2 separate regions of the Homo sapiens genome follow, and region 1 is linked to region 2. Evidence: promoter capture Hi-C in human tissues and cell types (Jung and others, 2019). All regions are on one chromosome and are shown on one strand. Each heading gives the region's core, a stretch centred on a gene start or on the middle of the fragment in contact. The rest is flanking DNA. Distances are from core to core; before and after follow the strand shown.

Region 1 (5,284 bases), core at 487-2,986, 73 kb before region 2:
TCCCCAGCGTCGCCCTGGGGCCTGTTTCCAGCTGTGCTTGGCCCTTCGTCCTCCAGGGAGCTCGGTTGGGTGGGCTCGGTGGGGCCAGCATGGGGTCGGCCACATCACCTCCGCCTGATGCCCTGTGGGCCCCCAGGGCCAGGTCTCCTCTGCCCAGTTCCGTATAGTCCCCCAGATGGTCCCCAAATGTTGGTCGCTGTCCCCATGCGTGGGCTGCAGGGCTGTATCTTGGGGCCCAGGGCTCCTAGGGGAGTGCGTCTGCCTTCCCTCTCGTCTTCCCGGAGCCCCCGCCCCACCTCTTGCTCCCAGCCTGGCTTGGTGCCTCAGAGCCTGTGCGGAACGATGGGACAGACGCCAAACGTGTGGTAGCAGGAGTGCGGGTGACGGTGCAGCAAGCCCAGCTGCTGAGGGTGGGAAGGAGCCCGAGGTGAGGGACTCCCCAGCAGCTCCAAGGCAAAGTCCTGCTGCCCTTCCCAGCAATTACAGGCTGGGCAGAAAGAGCTGGGGGCCGTGGGAGAGGGGATTTTCACCTGCAGAAAGGTGGGTGACACCCAGGTGGGCCAGCGTGGAGCTGGCAGGGCTGGGGGTGTTAGTCCCGGCGTCTGGCTGTGGCCCCTCAGCGTGATCCATGGCGAGCAGGATGGCAGAGGCTGCCAGCCACAGCATCAGCTGGCAGAGGCTGGCACCAGACCCATGCCCTGGCAGGAGCATGGCACAGAGGGGCCCTGGCTGTGCCGGGGGCTCTGGGCTGGCCGCTGTCCCAGTCAATGCTCTGGGCAGCCAATCCAGTCCCAGAAAGAAGGTTGCACTGGAGGGGCGATTAGAGCACATGGGCAGGGGCTGGGGTAAAGATGGCTGGGTGGCTGGGCCCCCAGCTCCTCCAAGCCCGGGAGGAGGTTAGGCCCATGGACCTTAAAACTCCGAGCCTAGAGTCGGGCTGGCCCACAGGAGCCTCCACCTTGAAGGGGCTAGGAGGGGCCTCTGAGGCCAAGGTCAGGAGCCCGGGCTGGGCTGAGGGGCAGGGAGGGCTGGGGGGGCGGGGGAGGGCAGTGGTCATCTGGTCCAGACGCCCAGGGGTCGGGCAGAGGTCGGGAACACAGGGTCCTGGGGTCGGACAGAGCCGGCAGGACTGAAGGCCCACGAGGGGTCTGGGCTGTGCTTCAGAGCTTCAGGGAAAGGCTCAGAGCCCCGCAGAGGCCCAGCCTGAGACATCCCGGGGGCGGAGGTGCGGCGGGGCTCCCAGGGACTGGCCATCCTCAGCCTCCTCTTCCCCTTAAGCCCCGGGAGGCGCTGCTGTGGCGGCTTCAGTCCGACTCTGGCCAACACTTCATGACGGGGGCTTCCCCTTGGAAGTGCTGGCGGTGGGGTCATCCCGGGTGGGCCTTGGCGCAGGTGAGCTTCCCCAGTGGCCGCCTGGACCCGGCCCTGCAGTCCCTGCCCTCAGATGGCACAGGCGTGGAGGGCGGGCAGGGTGGGCCCCAGCATGGGTGTCAGTGGGATAAACACTCAGGCAGGGGGGCTCCGGGGATTTGGGGACACAGCAGTGGCCCTGGCCCCTCAGGCTCAGGGGTGGGGGGCGGGGCACAACACATTCCAGGATTCCCAGAGGAGACTTAGATGGGCGAGGTGCTGGCTGGAACCCTGGCTTGGGTCTGCACTGGGTGGGATGGCAGCACCTGTGGGTCCCAGGCCTCAGTCGTGAGGAGAGTGGCATGAGTGGATGCCCCTCCCTCGAGGGCCCCAGGGGACCTGAAAATGGCATGGAGGGTGGGACAAGCTGGAAGCTGCGGCCCCCACGATGGAGACTGGGGACCGGGCTTCTCCCGCTCTGCTGGGCAAGGTCCCCCCCCCAACCTCTCACCCCCCACCCCTCACCTGCAGGCCTGAACACCCAGCAGGCACCTCACCCACTGAGGGGCTTCCGGGGTCCTGGCTGCCCACTGGGCTTCCAGCAACAGGTGCAGGTCCCTCCGGCCCCAACCACAGCCCCGTCCCATGCCCCGGGTGTGTGCCGCCCCTGCGGCGCCCCATTCCAGCCCTGCCTGACCCAGGTCAAGACTGTCTCTCAGGCCCCTTCCCACCCTCAGCTGCTCTGACCCGGCCATGAGCCTGAGTAGGAAGGGTGGGCAGGGGGCTGTCCCGGGATCGAGGAAGTTGGCCCTGCCATCACCCCCACTGTTTCACCCACAGCTGCCCCTGCACAGGGCTGGTCTTTGTCAGGGGCGCAGCCTTGCTGGGCCACAGCAGAACAGGGGACCCTGCTGCCTGCCGCAGCCCTCCTCCCTCCACCTCCGAATTTCACAGTCCCTGCTTCCCGCGCCGGCTCGGAGCTCCCTAGAGACTCCTGCCAGATGTTCCTGGCAGCCTCACATCGCTTCCCTAATGAAATATTCATGGGCCTTTCTGCCTCTTGACATAAAGCCTTCTGCAGCTCCACGCACCATGGAGAGGGAGCTGGCCTCCCAACAAACCCTAGGAAGGAGTGGGCGCCCGGCCAGCCCCTCCCCCTGTGCCAACCCCGGCCGCCCACTGTGCCTCCCGAGACAGTGGCTGGGCCTCCGCCTCCCCTTTGCTCTGCTAAGGGTCAGGGGTCCAGCTGCTGCGCCCTCCCCCAGCCCAGAGGCCTCCCTGCCGCCTCCGCCTCCCGAGAGCCCAGTGCCAGCTGTGCGGGCACATCAGCCCTGGGGCTGGGCTCTGGAGGGAGGGCAGCCGCCACCCCGCATAGGAGGGAGCCAGTACCTGTGTGTCCAGGACCACCCTCACAGGCCCAGGGAGGAGGGGTTCTCCCTACCTCTTACTTCAGTACCTTGGTGGCCAAGAGCTCCTTACCCCATGCCAACAAGACCAGGCTCCTGGAGTCCACCTCGCCCCTAGCTGCATGGTGGCCAGCCTGGTCTTGCAGTCACCCGATGTCATCCGTCCACACCTCTGTCCCTGTGCTCACGCACACGGTGTGGGCACCACGCCGGGTTCTGTGCGTGGAGATCAGACTTCATGACGTTGAGCAAAACCTGCCCAGCCTTGCGCTCCAGGTATTCACGCCAGCCCCCACCAGGTCATGTGGGCGGAGGACCTCGGGGCAGGGGTGGTGAGGGCAAGAAGGACAAGACGGATGGAAAGTTCCAGGGCCTGGGAACTGTGTGAGGAGTAGAAAGCGGCCAGTCAGTGAGTCCTACACAGAGGGGACCTTTGTGCCCCAGGTCAAAGGAGAAGGGAGCGGGCCCCAGCCGAGTCCACACCAGCCTCTGCTCGGTCCACAGGCCCTGTCTGGCTCTGCTAGGTCTCCTCAGTCAGGAGGTCCATGAGACCCCGGCCCCGGGTTCTGGTCTGTAGGTGGTGGCCACAGCGAGGCCCCTCTGAGCGGGAGTCTGCCCCACATGGGGTGCCCTCTCCACGCGCCTGCGTGGCTCACCCTGGGCTCTGCTCTGCTGTGCAGGCAGGGGCCCAAAAGGCTTACCCGGGGGATCTAGGGCTGCCCCAGTCTCTGTGATTCCCGCGCCCCCTTGCTCCTGGCCTCTGGGTCAAGCCTTTGTCTTTAGCGGTCATCTCGACCTTAACTGTCACCTACAGTGGCAGGGAAACAGTTACCCTACCATTCACAGAGACAGTCTCAGCCTCCACATTTCGGGAGACAGAAGTTCAGAGAGGCCATGTTGCTTCCCTGAGGCCGCAGAGCCAGAAAAGAAGCTGCCTGGGCGCATCTATCCAGGAGCCCCGGCATCGTCACCAGGGCCACACAAGCAGCGAGGACCCTCCCGGGAACCAGCTCCCTGACTGGGACGCCCCAGCCCTCCTGAGCTCACTGCCCAGGGATCCGGCCAGTGCCCCTCCCCCATGCGGGCAGTGGGCTGGGACGCGCGGGGGGAGGGGGCTTGGGCCGCGTCGTCCCTCCGCCTCCCCAGGTCCCAGCCGTCTTGCTCCCTGAGCTGCTGGCGGGGTAATAAGCTCTGCGTGTGGTGTGGAAATAAAGCACGTTCCACGGAACAAATGGTGTTAATGTGCAGAAGCACTGCAGCCCGGAGTTACCCAGCGCCTGGAGGGCGGCGCGGCAGCTGCACCAGAATGAGCGGCTGCGCGGAGAATCAGCGAGGCCATACGTCCCCGTCCCCGTGGAGGGACAAAGCATCCCAGCCCTGGCCCCCAGCAGCGCCGGCCCTCCAGGCGGGAGGCGGTTCCAGGAAGTGAAGTGAGCAGGTGCTGGGACTCCCCTCCCCTCCTGGAGGCGCCTGCCCAGAGTAGTCAGTGACCACCCCTAGGTCCCACCTGACGGCCCTGCCTGGCCAGGTGTGGTGGCCACTGGGACAGCCTCCCTCAGACCCGAGGCCACTGCCTGTGGGGTCCAGCGGCCTTGTCCTGTCTCAGCTGCCATCACCCCACCAGGCCCCCAAAATGTGCTCTGGGGCCCATCCCGCCACAAAGCCTGGGGTCTCACTGCTCCTCTCCTAGAACGGCCACTTTTCTTCTTTACGCAGGGGTCACGCTCCAGGCCTTTCTCCAAGCCCTCCCCGCGCTGGGACGCATTTACCCGCCTGCCTGTTGACTTCGGCTGGCACCCACTCCTGGGCTGCTCAGAGCTGCTGCTCCCTGTTGATGAGCACTGTAGGTGGCTTCGAGATGCACGCCTCGGGACGATCTGCCTTCCTCCCCCGCCTGCCATTCCCGCACTGACAAACGTCTGCCCTGGGTGTTAGGAGCGAGGTGCACATTGCACCTTACATCCTCATGGGCGGCTCCAGGAGCCTCACTGCAGCTGATGAGTACTTAACACCATCATCCATCTGTGTGGCCGTTGGGGCTGGCACAGAAGCTCTGGATGCCTCTACCTGGAAACCAGGGCTGTTCTCCCTGGATGGCAGGAAGGAAGCAGGTGGGAGGCGGGCGGAGGTGCTTGTTCCACCGGCACTCCTGGGTTCTGAGGACATGGCACTTCCCCGCCTGTGTCTTGCTTTGGCCATAGGTTCTGAGCTTCTGCTTCTCCTCTGTGGGTACGAGGGCCGCTCTGGCATTATGTCTTCTAGACCTGCGCCTCCTTCAGACGTCAGGGCCGTGCACTCAGACACCTCCAGTGAAAGCTTTTGGGGTTTGGATGGATGGACAGATGGACAAATTAACAGCATTCTGCACTTGGAATGACAAAACTTTAGGCAAGAAAAGGGTCATTGGAGAATATCTAGTCCAACACTCTAATGGGATAGAGAGGGAAACTGAGGCCAGCAGAAAGCATGTCACCTGACCCAGTCACAGCCCTTGGATACAGAGGGAAACTGAGGCCAGCAGAAAGGAT
Region 2 (5,183 bases), core at 120-2,619:
CTGCACAAATGAGGAAACCAGGAGGGTCAGGGCCCCCAGGACCCTCACTGTGAATCCCACCCTGAGCCAGAGCACAGGGAACAGCAGGGGACGTGGGGACCGAATGATGGCACCAGGGGATGGGCCCCGGGCTGGCAGGAATGTCCCCTCCAGCCTCAGTCCTGGGGGCAGAACGGCCGACCACCCAGGGCAGGGGAGGCCCCGGGTGGGCCTGGCGTCTGGGAAGTTCCCCAGCAGGAACAAACACATCCCCACTGTAAGCTGGACACACACGCTGGCATGCAGCTTGTTGTCACCAACTCGAGAAAGACACTCGACTATTGGGACAGGGAGACCCGGGACACCTGGAGACCCTGCGGGGAAGGAGTCGGCTTTTACTCCTGCACGGCTTGAATTATTAACTGCGTGCAAACGTGACCTAAAACTCAAATCAAATCAAATCAAAATAGCACAGATGCCCGTGAGCCGGCCCTGGGTCTGCGGGCTCCACACCTCTGGCCTGTCTGAGGCCGGGAAACCTCCAGCCATGGCATCAGAAAAGCCACCGAACCAGGGCTGCAGGGCCGAAGGGTCACTGTCCCCTCCCAGGAAGCTCCTGCCCTCTGACAGTTGTCAGGGAGCTTTAGAAAGTGGCTTTTTTTCCCAGCATCTGGGATGTGCCTCACTCTCTCAGCCCAACGGCCGCTAGAAAGGGGTCCTAGGACTCTCCCTAGGGTCTAAGTAGTCCCAAGAGTGCTCTGAGGTGGCTTCTGGAATTTCCCAGACTGGAGAAGCCACCTACCCCCGACCCCCGCAAACTCCAGGCTGCTCACCGGAGGCGGCCGCTGGGGCGTGGGGTGAGGGTCTTTCTGAGGCACCCCCGGAGAGTGGGGGAGCCCTGCTGTCTCCACAGAGGGCCAGGAGCCCTGTGCACGAGGCCAAGCAGAGAGAGAGGGTTTCCTTCCCAGCAGGCGGGAGGTACTTTGAGGACAGGTCAGGTGCCCAAGAACCCCGGAGCAGGGGCTGAGGAGAGGCTGGTCAGAGGCCCCGCCTTGCTCAAGGGCACAGTCAGCAGACACAGGAACACGGGCAGGGTGGCCCCTGGAGCGGGGGCAAACTAAAAGGGGTGCTGGGGAAAGCTCGGCTGACTGAGGGCTAGCGGAGAGGGAGGACACCCCCAGATACCCCAGGCTGAAGGAAGGGCCAAGCCCTGGGGGGAAGATGGGTGGGCGGGACAGGCCAAGGGCTCTGGGCCAGGATGGAGCTGCCCTCAGGCCTGCACACCTGCCCTGGGGCCGAGGAAACACATGCCCAGTGGCCACGCTGTAGGGCTCAGGGTGGGTGGGACGTCACCAGAGCTGCCTGGGAGGAGGAAGTTGTTGGAAGGTCAAACCGGAATGGCCCGAGGGAAGGCCGCGCAGGGCAGGGCCCCAGATGGTTCCTGTCAGGGAAGTGGCGGGCGCAGCTGCAGGCCTCCGGCCCCGGCATTATCACGGGGACACAGCTGGCTGCCTCACCCGCAGGCTGCAGGGAGACCTTCCCCAGCCTGCAGCCCCAGGCCCGCCCCGCGTCACATGAGCCCCAGGGCTCCCACCCCCTCCCCAGGGCAGAGGACACCCAGTTGGTGGCCGGGAGGGCCTCGGCTTTCCAGGGACAGAGGCCCAACTCCAGGACGCCCCAGCTGGCCCAGCCCCTCCTCTTTCCCTCAAGGCTGCAGGAGGTCGGGAAAGGCAGTCCTGGTAGAGGCCTGTCCTGGGCTCCAGGTTGGCCCCTGAGGGTGGCCCTCCTCATGCCGGCTTCAAGACTGAGGGACAGGGCAGCCAGTTCAGCCTCGGGATCCACCTGTGGCTCCATGTCCCAGACGCACCCTGTGCTGGAGAGCGGCCTCCTGGCATCTGCCGGCTGCTCCGCACCCCGGGGTCCCAGGAAGGGCGGCCCAGGTAAGAGGCTCGAGGGGAAGGTGGTGGGGTGGGGGCAGAGAGCGGCAGCCGGTGCCGGGGCTGTGACTCCTTAGAGCTTCGCGGGGCCTGCCCAGCTTAGTTGACAGTGCCGGCACGGATGGCCGTGTTGACTCACCTCAGATATCAACAGGGCCACCCCACAGGCAGGTCCTGCACAGCTGGGGCAGGTGGGCTGGTGAGGGTTTGGCAGGTGCCAGCCAGGTGCCCCAGCCCCACCCAGAGGCAGATGCTGGAGGCCGGGCTGCTCAGCCCCGTCTAGGAGGGTGGGCTGTGTTCTCCTGGGGGTGGGAGGGCCGCAGCCGGGAAGTGATGGGGGGGTCCTAGAAAGAGAGCCCTCCTCCTCCTGGGATGCCCTCCGGGTGTGACACCTCACAGCAGGTTGGATGAGGAAACTGAGGCCAGAGGGGAGGGCACTGGCCCAAGACCCCGGTGAGGAGGAAATGGACCCAACCCTGGGCCCCTGTCCGAGGAACGATTCCAGCCAGGGCAGTGGGGGTTTACGGGGAACCTGGGCCTGCCCTTCTGGGGGCTTCGGGCTCTGGGGAGGGGTCCAGTCCAGCAGGACGCCAGCTATTGCTGATACCCCCCACCCGAGCCTGCGAAGTCCCAGGACAAGGATCCCCGGACGCTGGGGGCTGCAGCTGCAGGCTGGTGGCCCCGATTCCCAGTGGCCCTCGTGGCCACACTCCCAGCAGCCGTCGGAACCTTCAGGAGCTCACAGTCTCCCGTCTCGCGGGGCTCTCACTGAGGCCGTCAGGTCCAAGGTCTGACTGCACCCCTGACACTCACACACAGAACCCGGGACCGAGGGGTGTCCCCATCTCTGGAGACCACATTCCCTGAGCAGGTCCTGGCGGCGGCTGCCTGAGGCTGTTCCCACCTGCAGCTGCCCGTGGGGCCCCAGGGCCATCCCCCACAAGGGCCCCAGATGTGAGCAGGAACTTCCCAACCCCGGGTGCCCGGAATGCAAAGGCCGGACCTCACCACAGCCAGTGCTACTGTTCGTTTCTCCCGAATGGGTGACTCAGAGCCACCTTCAAGGCAGCACCAGCCCACTGGCCCTGGCATCTGCCATCCCGTCCTCTCTGGAGCGGCCCTGTCTATCCCCTGGCGCTGAGTGGCCTTGGGCCGGGTGCTTCCTCCCTGGGCCTCAGTTTCCTCATGGTTCAGACCCTTCCGACCTGCTCCCCGCGTGAGAGCAGGTTCTCACCGGCGCGGAGAGAGACGGGCTCTGAGGCGCATGGAGAGCCGCCGCTTTGTTAGGATGGGGGCGTCTACTGTGGAAGGACGGGGGTGTCTACCGTGGAAGGAGGTTAGGGCCAAGAGGTGGCCCCGTGCCTGAGTCATGCGAGGGGCTGCTGGCTAGAGGCATGAAACAGAGGGTCAGGGCGGGCCTCTGACATGGCTGCAGGTGAGGAGCAGAGGGTCAGGGTGGACCTCTGACATGGCTAAAGATGTGGAGCAGAGAGGGTCAGGGTGGACCTCTGACATGGCTGCAGGTCAGGAGCAGAGGGCCAGGGTGGCCTCTAACACAGAGTACCCAGCCACTGTGCCCACCCCCAGGGAGCCCCTGCTTAGGGGCTGCAATGTGAGGAGGGAGCAGGGTCTCACTTGGGTGCGGGGTCCTGCCCCTGGCTTCTAGGGGCTTCTGTCCGTGCAACCACCCGGCCCTATTCCAGGGTACCCATGGGACAGCCTTAGCCACATCAGGCAGCAGAGTTACATGTGAATACCAGCACTTGGGGCTTCTCATCCTGTACCCCAGGGGCCTCCCAAGGCCCCCAGGGGACAGATGTGGGAGCCTTGTGATGCCAGAAAGCCTCGGCATCAAGCCTCGCCTGGCTGGAGGAGCGGGGGCCATGGGGGGCATGGGAACTGCGGGGGGTCCTGGACAGACCTGAGGGCACCTCAGCCCCACTGTGTGGCTGTCAGGCACACAGGCCTCCCAAGAGTTCCTAAAACCTTTGAGGCCTGAAAACAGGCCGATTGGCTTTAAACTCTGGGGAGAACAGTAATATTTCTAAAAGCTGAAGTAGAAGAACCTTCCTGTCTTTAGACCAAAGGCGTACTGAGCAGGGCTGTGTTGCTGCGCGTTTGGTGGCGGGCAGGAGAGACGTCTGTGTGCTGTGCAGGGGGTGGGAGGACCTCAGCCCCTCGTCTCCTCTGACAGCGTCCTGGGGGCTGAGGTGTAAGCAATCAGAAGATGGCCACAGAGCACACGCCGCCGTCTGGGGGCCGGGACCCCTTCCCTGGGCTCCTTCACCAGCCCCCTCACGCGGAGGGTCTGGATCCTCACTGACCCCTGGGCCCAGTGGTGCAGAAGGAACCCCTGAAGACGGTGCTTGCGGTGCTGGGTTTACGAGGCGCCCGCTGTGTGTGCTCGGAGCTGTGCAGGCTCTCACCGCCTTGTCCCCCCAAGCCCACTTTGCAGAAGAAGAGGCGGAGGTCAGAAAGGTGACCTGACTGCCTCAGGAGAGAGGGATGGGAACCAGGTCACCCGAGGAGGGTGCCAGGGACAGAGATTTTGAAATCCACCTGGCAAGTGTAGGCTGAGGCAGAGAAGTTTCAGTGCCATGTGCTGGGACCTCCATGGGGGAGAAACTGAGTCAGGCCTGCCTGGTGTCACCTTAGAGGGACGACGTGGGATCTCGGGGAGGTGGTGAGCACTATCAGTGGAGGGGTGCAGGCAAAGGCGGGCGGGTGTTATGGGGACCGGGCAAGGCGGGAGATGTTATGGGGACCGGGCAAGGCGGGCAGATGTTATGGGGACTGGGCAGATGCTGTGAAGGCACCATCCGTGCAGGAAGCTTGAGCCCTGGCTGGAGCCCACCTGGCAAAGGGGTCACGTCCAGAGCCTGCGGTCAGCCTGGGCTCCCTCTACCCGACCTTGCCCTTGGGGCTGGGCTTTGCCACCACTCACTCTCCATCCTCCATCCCCTCAAGTGGCCATCCAGGCCCAGCTGTCCTCTGGAATGTTGTGGGTCTGGAACGTCCTGGGTCCAGAATGTTCTGGGTCCGGAATGTTCTGGGTTTGGAATGTTCTGGGTCCGGAATATTCTGCATTGGAAGGTTCTGGGTCTGGAATGTTCTGGGTCTGGATTGCCCTCCCCGGGTGTTTCTATCTCCTGGGGCTGCAGTAAGGATGGGCTGCAAGCTGGCTGGGGGCTCAGAACAACAGAGGCTTCTGTTCTCACAGTGCCGCAGGCTGGAAGTCCGAAACTAAGGCGTCAGATGGCCGTGCTC

The links. Contacts are between HindIII fragments. The study calls those that stand out against the background at their distance.
Region 1: a contact is called between a fragment that was not itself captured here and the fragment with the promoter of CBFA2T3 in region 2, in 2 of the 25 tissues and cell types used here (lymphoblastoid cells and spleen).

What each region holds. Positions count from the first base shown.
Region 1 is chr16:89,047,009-89,052,292 of GRCh38, reverse strand. No RefSeq gene overlaps it. Among named protein-coding and RNA genes, the nearest start is that of ACSF3, 44 kb to the left of the region's middle. The HindIII fragment of the contact is 8,249 bases long and covers 1-5,284 here.
Region 2 is chr16:88,973,393-88,978,575 of GRCh38, reverse strand. It overlaps CBFA2T3 (CBFA2/RUNX1 partner transcriptional co-repressor 3), which reads left to right and starts at 1,369. Exons shown (of 12, transcript NM_005187.6): 1 at 1,369-1,919. The coding sequence starts at 1,769. RefSeq lists enhancers at 948-997, 2,838-3,047, 2,700-3,244. The HindIII fragment of the contact is 13,654 bases long and covers 1-5,183 here.